Linked DNA regions of Homo sapiens: region 2 is linked to region 1. The links are contacts of gene promoters, found by promoter capture Hi-C in human tissues and cell types (Jung and others, 2019). All regions are on one chromosome and are shown on one strand. The core of a region is centred on a gene start or on the middle of the fragment in contact, and the rest is flanking DNA. Distances in the headings are between cores, read along the strand shown.

Region 1 (4,717 bases), core at 857-3,356:
ACTAAAATCTGTTTCAGTGTTCACCTTTACAATAAAGCCATGAGACTTTTGTAAAAATAGAAATGATTCTGCCATTGACACAGGAACTGAAATAATCAAAACTGATACACAGAATCCAAATCTGAATAGCTAGATTGGTTCAAGAAGCTCGTGAGGCTTTTTCAAATTTATAAATGCAGCATGCTGTCAGCCTCCTCAGAACAATAGGGTAAAGAATAGCTTCTTCAAAACAGCTAGCAAAATACAACTATATGTTGAACTTTTTCGCATAAATAGCTAAAAACGTAACCACAAAGCTGTGTGGGTTTTCCCCCACCATGAGCATTATAAAGATATCTGGGAAAGTGATGTTTTGAGGTCCAAAAGCACCACTAATCAGCAGCACCTGGGGCAACGCCAGCCAAAAAGCCCTGAATTCTAGACAGAGTCCATTTTTTTCAGTTATAAAGACCCCATTTATCATCAAAACTTTTTCAAAACCTTATAATATTATCAACTAAGAAAATACGTGAAGCTACGTAAGTTCTAAACCATTCGTAATGAACTTGCACTGTATAAACAACAGCATCTACATACAAGCAAAAAAAAAAAATACTGCTCGAAAGTGAGACATCAGTTAGTCGGTCACTGCACTTGTTAGTTTTAAGGCCCCATGTTTTCTGACAGATCTCCAAGCCTGAAAACACCAGAACTATTTCTGCTTCTGTCGTGTGATGATCAATTAGGTCCTTTCAGATCTTGCAAATGATCCCTTTAGAGTGCCACTGTTCTACAAACACTCCTTTTGGGGCCAAAATAGGTATCTCTGACACGCTTTAAGATGATGAATTATTCTTGAATATGAGGAGGACTGGGAGTTAGTTCTCTTAAATAGGGAAGCACCCTTGCACACTCCTTTGGGATCCACATCTGAGAAAGTCCAAAGAAAAGAAAAAGGGCAACAGTTTGCCCCTGAAAGTGAGTTCAATTTCAGAGGGATATGTGAGGGCCTGTGCCAGAGGAATATTTTTGAAATGGGGGGAGTCTATAAGTTGCCCAGTCTAATCTCTAAAGGCCTCTCCGCAAGGCCCTGCTGCTCAAGATTCCTTCTGGCGAATCCCACTCTACAAACACTCAACAACTAAGAGTGCTACTGGCTCACATGGAGGGCTAACAAGACCTGCAAATCCAGGCTGCTCTGAAGGACGGTGGAAGATAACCAACCCCGAGCCACGAGATTTAGGACCCGACTTTTGGTTAACTTTCAAATTTCTTATGCCAGTAATATACTTCAGAGTGGCGCGGAGGGAATTGGAAAACATCACCAGGCAAAAAAAAGAAAAAAACTCTTTCACGAAACAAGACTTCCAATTAGAACACGTGTGGGGACAATAAGAAACACGTTCTAACCACCCCCAAAATTAAAATAAAACACAGCGAGCAACAAGAGAGACCTGCGCGCGCCCCACCGCCCGCGCGCGGCTCTCCGCAGGGTCACCGAGGGGTGAGGCCGCGCTCTCCCGGCGGCCGTCCAGGGGGAGGAGGCCCCGCGCCCCGCCCCGCCGCCCTCCAGCCGCCGCGGCCGCTCCGGGGTGTTCCCCAGATCTCTTCTCAATCAAGAGATGAAATTTGTGCCGTTTTGAAACTGAAGCCTCAAGTAGTCCAGACGTTTTCTGACCCACATCCGAGACGTTCTCGGCTTCCCGCCGCAACTTCCGAATTTGGGGAGGGGGCGGAGGCGGGCGGGCCAGGCCTGGCGACCGCACCTTGAGGGAGCGCGAGTCCCCTCGCTGCCCCGGGCCGCCGCAGGCGCCGGCGGCGGTCGGGGACGGCGCGACCCAGCCCGGGACCCCCGCCCGCCCCGGCTCGGGCGAAGTTTGCCGCGGCCCGGGGTCGCCCCGTCACTCGGCCTCCGTCGGGGACTGGGTCCCCGTAACCCGCAAGGGCGCCCGACCCCGACCCCGCCCGCCACCGCTCACTCACCTGCCCTGCGCCGGACGGCGAGCCCGCGGGCCGGCGGGGAGAGGCCGGGAGGCCCGGGCGGGGTCGGGGCGAGGCGGGTGAGGAGGCGGCGGCGGAGCCTAAGTCAGCCGAAGCGGCGGCGACCGCGGCTGAGGCGGCTGAGGCGGCGGTCGCGGCTTCAGGCGCTCCAGCCCGAGCGCTGCGCGCGGCGCGGGCCCGCCCCTCTGCGCCGCTAACCAATCTAGCGCCGCGCGCCGCCGCCGGCCCCGCCCCCGCCCAAGGGCAGGCTCGCGAAAGCGGGCGCCGCGGGCCAATGAAAGGGCGGAACATCAACCGGCGCGGCCAATCCGAGCCCGGAAAGTTCTCTGGAAAAAGCCAACTCCAGTCAAAGGGGCGGGGGTGGGGCTGGGGGCGGGGCGGGGACCTGGCCCAATGACGCGCGGGGCGGGGCCGAGCATTGGGCGGGGAGGAGGCGGGGCCTCGAACGGGCGGGCCGGTCACTAGTAGTGGGCGGGGTCGTAGGCGGGACATTGAGCGGGCGGGGCAAGAATCGGGGCGGGGGCCTAATGAAGTGAAGCGGGGAGGGGACGGGCAGTGGGAGGGGCAGGTCACATTTGGGGTGGGGTGGGGGCGGGGCAGGGGCGGGGCTGAGTACGGGAGGCCAGGCCGGGGAGAGGCCTAAGTCGGGGCGGGCGGGAGAAGGGCAAGAGCAGTGGGCGGGGCTCGGGGGTTAGGGGATTAGTGCCCTTGCTGGGGCGGGGCCCAGGCTTGGGGCGGGCCTGTGGTGGGCAGGGCCGTGGATGGGCGGGGCGAGCCTTCGTGGGCGGGCCAGGCCTGTGGTGGGCGGGGCGGGCCGTTGGTGAGCGAGACCTTGGTGGACGGGGCGGATCCGCGGTGGGCGGGGATTTGGCGGGCGGGCGGGTGGGCCCGACGGGACGGGAATGGCCGTTGAATTCCCAGCCGTGCCGCAACCCCGAAGGTCCCCCTGCAGCGCCCGCTTCCCGTTCTCTGTGGGCCTGGCCCCGGCCCGGAGGCTGGGGCCGCAGCGCCCGGCGGGCAGGGGCCCCGAGCGGCTCGTGAGCCTGTGCCCAGACGCTGCCCGCCCCGCGCTGGTCCCGCCGCCCTGTCCCCTCCGCCCGCCCGGCGTTCGCGTGCCGTGGCCTGGGGCGGGGCGTTGCTGGGCCCCGGGGGCTGCAGGGGGAGGCCGCCCTTTCTCTGGGCTGGCTCCGGGCTGTTCCGCTCCGCGCCGTTTTCCCGGTACTTCCCGCGGAGCCCGCCTCGCTGTGCGTCCCCGCCCGGGCGTTTCTTCCGCGGCGCTGAGCGCCCGCCCCGGCCTCGGGCAAGGGCAGCCGGACGCCCCGAGGACCAGGGCGCTGGGGCCGAGGCGCGTCCTCCGCAGTCGCCGCGCCTGGGCCCCGTTTCCCCGCGGGTCCTCGCCGGGGTGGGAGGCGCCTCTTGGCGTCCGTGGGGAGCTGGGTGTGGGGGGCGGCAGGGCAGGAGGTGGGGGGGCTGAGCCGGAGAAACGTCCTCGCCCCGCCCGAGACCTCAGACACCCCAGAACCTCGGGCCGGCAGCCAGCTGCAGGAATCGCGCCCTAAAGCCTGGGGTCCGCGCCCGCCCGCCTCCCGCGAGCGCCAGGGGCTGCCGGGTCACCGGGATGCAGCCTCGAGGCGACGTCACAGACCCCACGCGGCCCCCCGAGCACCCCCGGAGCCGGCGCGGGGACAGGGGTTCGGGATGGACGGAACCCACGCAGGGAACGTTCCGGGCCGTCTACGCCAGGCTCAGGGCGGCCGTCAGCTGGGGTTGGAGGTGGGTCAGGAAGAGATGTGTCCTTTTGTCTCCAAATGTCGCTTGTGTCATTAAAAGACAACCTTAAAATAGAAGAAAAAAAAAAAAAAAAAGCCTGGGCTGGCGTGAGGAGGGGCCGTCCGCGAGCTACGGAGGCTGAGTCGGCGGGGAAGGGAATGTGGAGTGGGGCGGGGGGGGCGCTTGGCGAACCCGTGCTTTGGACGCGCTTGGCGGTTTCGGGGAGAATGAGAATGGAGGGGAGGGAGGCCAAGGCCTGCAGCCTGGTGGGAATGCTGGGAAGGACGCTGTGGACAGGACCTTACTGGAAATGAACCAGAAGGGAAGGTGGGCCGGGCGCGGTGGCTCGCCCCTTAATCCCAACGCTTTGGGAGGCCGAGGCAGAAGGATCGCTTGAGCCCAGGCGTTGGAGACCCGCATGGGAAACATCGTGAGACTCTGTTTTTAGAAAAGGAGGAGGAGAAGGGATACTGGGCGGCCTCTGCCACACCTGGACTCTGCGGGCAGGGGGCCAGAGGGACCCAGGGCTGCTGTGCTGGAGCTGGAGCTGGCGCGAGGGTCTGGGCAGAGCACTGTCAGCGCCCCCAGATTACAGGCTGCCAGCCTCCCCCGGTCCTCTGCGGGAGCCTGCGGCCTCAGCTGCCTGCCCCGCCGGCTGAAAGACACAGTTAGTCATTAGGAAAGTAATGATAGTGTTTTCAGGGCAGCGTGTTAGACCCTAAAGACTTTCTATTATTTGCAGTTCCTGCCAACCCTGTGAAGAAAAAAAGCAGCTCATCTCTCACGCCCCGCCTCTTGACACACGCTGATCCGGCCTGGTTCTGGGTTTTCCCGGAGCCTGCAGGGCAGCCCCGCCCCAGGCGGCAGCAGCTGGGCCTGCAGCGTGTCCCTCATGGTGCCCGGCCTCCAGGTCCAGAGTTTCCTGCCTCCCTGAGCTCGGGGTGCGCTGTCTCCACCCTCTCATGGC
Region 2 (4,717 bases), core at 691-3,190, 410 kb after region 1:
AAATGTTCAGGTCATGTACTAAGTGAGGACTTGTGTGTATATGTTTATTGAACATTACTTTTAGGAGCAAAACACTAAATAAGAATCAACTATAGGCCAGGTGCAGTGGCTCACACCTGTAATCCTAGCTGTTTGGAAGGCCAAGGTAGGAGGATCACTTGAGCCCAGGAGTTCGAAACTAGTCTGAGAAAGATGGCAAGACTCCTACAAAAAATTTAAAAATTAGCTGGGTGTGGTAGCATGCACCTGTAGTCCCAGCTACTCAAGAGGCTGGGGTGGGAGGAGCCCAGGAGTTTGAGGCTGCAGTGGACTACGGTTGTGCTACTCCACTCCAGCCTGGGTGACAGAGACCCCATCTCTTATTAAAAAAATCAAGTATAAAAGTCATTTATAAACCCTCCCCCATTAATTTTGCTACGTATTACAGAAGTTCAGGAGGGGCTGTGCAGAGCTGGACCTCAGCCTCTGAGGTGGAGTGCTGCTGTCCTGCTACTGGCACCTGTGAAGGCGGGCAGTGAGACTCCAAAGCAACCTGCTGATGAGAACCAATAGCAGCTTTGCAGTTGCAGAAGCACTGCGGCTGAGCAGCAACAGCAAGCAAATGGCAGGAAATCACCTTCTCCCTCATCCTGTCTGCCATGGTCCCTCTTGTACTACCTTTGGCAGAATATAAAGCCAGCAGAGAATGGGAACATCATATTTGCAGGGTCCCAGCCTCAATATTATAAAGCGGAACGTAAATATTGAATTTGGAACTGAGAGATAAAGCTTCATAACTGACCCAAGTGGTAGATAGCATGAAAGGTCCAATGTGTCTTCACTCTAAGTCCTAGAAGGAAAGAATCAACATAATGTGGAAAACTAACAAATCCCGTAGCTGACAAAGTGTAAGGTGTGTCTGCAGTATTGTTTATGAGTATCTAAGAGTATTCAACTCATCCATAGAAAATAAGAGAAATGAGCAGACAGGCCAGTAGCCTGTGAGACACATGAGCCAGTAGACTGTGGAGAGAAAATGGGAGCATCAGAGAGGTATTCAGTATTCATAAGGCATTCAGTATTCATAAGACATTCAATATTCATGAGGCATTCAGTATTCATGAAGCATTCAATATTCATGAGGTCAGACAAAATTATCCACCGGTTATTGACTTCTGTTTTGGCCCTACTGTTTTCTGCCTGGGACAAGCAGATAAAAGCCCTAATTCATTTAATCTATTAGAGTTAGTCAATTTGTCAACGGAGTCAATTTTAACATCTTACCACTTCCCTTATTAACAGATTTTATAATGATTAACATAAAATCTTTGACCTTTGTTCATTAGAAAAATAATGGAGATTCCCATCTGTGCCCCAGTGGGACAGAGACTGAGACGTACTCTCATATACTTGGGTCTCCATGTCGCCCTGGCCTTATCACGTTGATATTACCCAGACTAAATTCTGGGTTATTAAAGATGTGTGTTGTTTTCTTTCACTTTTTTTTTTTTTTTTTTTTTTTTTGAGACGGAGTCTCACTCTGTCCCCCAGGCTGGAGTGCAGTGGCGCAATCTCGGCTCACAGTGCAACCTCCGCCTCCCAGGTTCAAGCGATTCTCGTGCCTCAACCTCCCGAGTAGCTGGGATTACAGGTGCATGCCACCATGCCCGGCTAATGTTTTGTATTTTTAGTAGAGACAGGGTTTCGCCATGTTGGCCAGGCTGGTCTCAAACTCCTGAGCTCAGGCAATCCACCCACCTCGGCCTCCCAAAGTGCTGGGATGACAGGCGTGAGCCACCGTGTCTGGCCTGACTTTAGCTTTTTAAGAACCACCGCAGGCAGGGCGCGGTGGCTCACGCCTGTAATCCCAGCACTTTGGGAGGCTGAGGCGGGCGGATCACGAGGTCAGGAGATCGAGACCATCCTGGCTAACACGGTGAAACCCCGTCTCTACTAAAAATACAAAAAATTAGCCGGGCCTGGTGGCGGGCGCCTGTAGTCCCAGCTACTAGGGAGGCTGAGGCAGGAGAATGGCGTGAACCCGGGAGGCGGAGGTTGCAGTGAGCCGAGATCGCGCCACTGCACTCCAGCCTGGGCGATAGCAAGACTCCGTCTCAAAAGAAAAAAAAAAAAAAAAACCACCACAAACTTAGCAAAGTACTGATTTTTACACTGTAAACCTCTTGTAAGATTTCCTAAATTTTGTTTCTCAATTTAAGCATCTCATGCAAACCTGCTTCCCAGGTGGCAAAGCTCTGACGCATGGTATGTCTGGGAACTTTTAAAATTAATACAGAATATATTTATTTAATATCTGCAACATAGCAGGCTTGTGCCAAGTGAATAGCCATGAACAAACCAATGCCTCTCACCCCCTGATGTCTGCATTTCATAGTGGGACAGATAAACAAATGCAAATGTCATTAATCAGTGCTAGGAAAGAAAATCGACCAGGGAGAACAACATAAGATTCAGCTGATGTATAAAGTACTTGTTTCCACAAAAATACATTTAAAATGACTCTCTAAGGAAGTAAATGATTGCAATTTTAAAAGCTTCCTGATATTTTTCTTATTTTCTTTAATTTGGACAATTTACATTTTACAGCACTAAAAGTTGTTGCTTTTGTGTGAAAAAAAATCCCACGAGTCCTTAGAGTACCAAATAAATGGCATTTTAAAAAGTCTATGCTAGCACTTTTTAAATCTTCTTATGAACATTTGCAAACATACAATTACCAACACTTGGCCGGTATCGTTTCATCCGAATCTTCTTGTCTTCTCCATTAGTGGAGCTGCCTGTCCCTGTTATATTTTTTATTTTATTTTTTTGAGACTGAGTCTTGCTCTGTCACCCAGGCTGGAGTGCAGTGGCGCGATCTCGGCTCACTGCAGGCTCTGCCTCCGGGGTTCACGCCATTCTCCTGCCTCAGCCTCCCGAGTAGCTGGGACTACAGGCGCCCGCCACCACGCCCGGCTAATTTTTTGTATTTTTAGTAGAGACAGGGTTTCACCGTGTTAGCCAGGATGGTCTCAATCTCCTGACCTTGTGATCCACCCGCCTTGGCCTCCCAAAGTGCTGGGATTACAGACATGAGCCACCACGCTCAGCTGTCCCAGTATTTTTGTGTGTGTGTGTGTGTGTGTGTTTTTTGAGATGGAGGCTCGCTCAGTCGCCCAGGCTGGACTACAGTGGTGTGGTCTTGGCTCACTGCAACCTCTGCCTTCTGGGTTCAAGCGATTCTTTTGCCTCAGCCTCCCGAGTAGCTGGGACTACAGGTGCATGCCACCACGCCCGGCTAATTTTTGTATTTTTAGTAGAGACAGAGTTTCACCATACTGGCCAGGCTGGTTTCAAATGCCTGACCTCATGATCTGCCCACCTCAGCCTCCCAAAGTGCTGGGATTACAGGCGTGAGCCACCATGCCCTAGCACACCACTGGGTCCCAGATGTCCTTGGGAACAGATCAAGGCAGTGCAAAGGCCCTGTGCTGGTGAGGGGCTGAAAGTTGGTGGGAACTAACTGCTGTTGCTGTTTTAAGCCCGTCTCAGACACATCCTTTCATCTGTGATGCCTTCAGTCTGTGGGTGTGGCAAAGTCCATGAACATTATATTAGCCAGATGTTAGCACTTCTATCAGCCAAATATTTTAGTATTTCTATATTTTCTTTTTTGTTACCCTCTCCTTTTCCATGTGGTCTTCCAATGGTAAGTTCATTCCACTATGTAGTTCATCTGTTGTGTTCACTTTTTCAAATTCTGCTTGGTTCTGTTTTCTGATCTCTTCCTGGACTGTGTTCTAAAACGCTAGAATCTATTCTAATAGGATCTCTATTCAGTATTACCATTTTGAGCTTTAGATAGTTGTGCTCTGCAGATTTCTCATTTCTCCTTATGAGGTCATTTTCCCCTGGAGGCATTGGCTGCTTGGCCAGAAGGCAGAAGGTGGGACCTCAGTGCCTGAGGGCATAGCGGGAGGTGGGCCAGCAGAAACCCACACTCACTCCTCATCCCTCAGGTCTGGCCTCACACTTTTTTCTCCTGCAGCTGTACCACACAGACCAATCTCACCAGTCCTGGAGGGTGGGATGGGGGAGGCACCTGCCAGAGGCTGATTAGTTCCCACCAACTTTCAGCCCCTCACCAGCACAGGGCCTTTGCACTGCCTTGATCTGTTCCCAAGGACATCTGGGACCCAGTGGTGTGCTAGTAAATGCTAAACAGGCTACCCTGCTCCAGTGTGGGCACACATATGTGTACATAAGCGTACTGTACATGTTACAGATATAAAAGGAGCAGCATGCAACTTAAAAACATGAATAAAATAGACAGTACTGTTGTAAATCCCACAGAGCCAGTTTTTATGGAATGCTTTCATTGAGTCTTGCTGAGCCCTACATCTGAAGCCAACACAGGGTTGCAGCTGATGAATGAGTGTGGTTCTGACAAGAATGCTGGGGATGTTTTCACCGATGAGTCAGATGAAGGCGAAGCAGCAGGACGAATGCCAGAGCTTCACTTGTTCAGTGACTGAGTGACTTCTTTGCTTAAGTAGATAACAGTTTCCAGAGGCTGTGAGACAGTTTCTTCAATTTTCTGTGCCATTCACAATGTAACAGCTACATTTGCAGTTTGATCTGCATCTTCCTCCATCCCTTGCTAGGTCTAGAGACAATCACAACAGTGAGTCAAGCCTTGAGTCACCGTGTCTGTGGGTACCAGTGGTGTGAAACCTCC

The links. Contacts are between HindIII fragments. The study calls those that stand out against the background at their distance.
Region 2: a fragment that was not itself captured here is called in contact with the fragment with the promoter of PCBP3 in region 1 in 3 of the 25 tissues and cell types used here (H1 embryonic stem cells, IMR-90 fibroblasts and dorsolateral prefrontal cortex).

Annotation. Positions count from the first base shown.
Region 1 is chr21:45,641,114-45,645,830 of GRCh38, reverse strand. PCBP3 (poly(rC) binding protein 3) reads right to left here and starts at 2,106. Exons shown (of 18, transcript NM_001384156.1): 1 at 1,963-2,106. RefSeq lists silencers at 1,452-1,591, 1,912-2,901. The HindIII fragment of the contact is 13,348 bases long and covers 1-4,717 here.
Region 2 is chr21:45,228,259-45,232,975 of GRCh38, reverse strand. No RefSeq gene overlaps it. Among named protein-coding and RNA genes, the nearest start is that of LINC00334, 3.7 kb to the left of the region's middle. The HindIII fragment of the contact is 4,173 bases long and covers 1-4,026 here.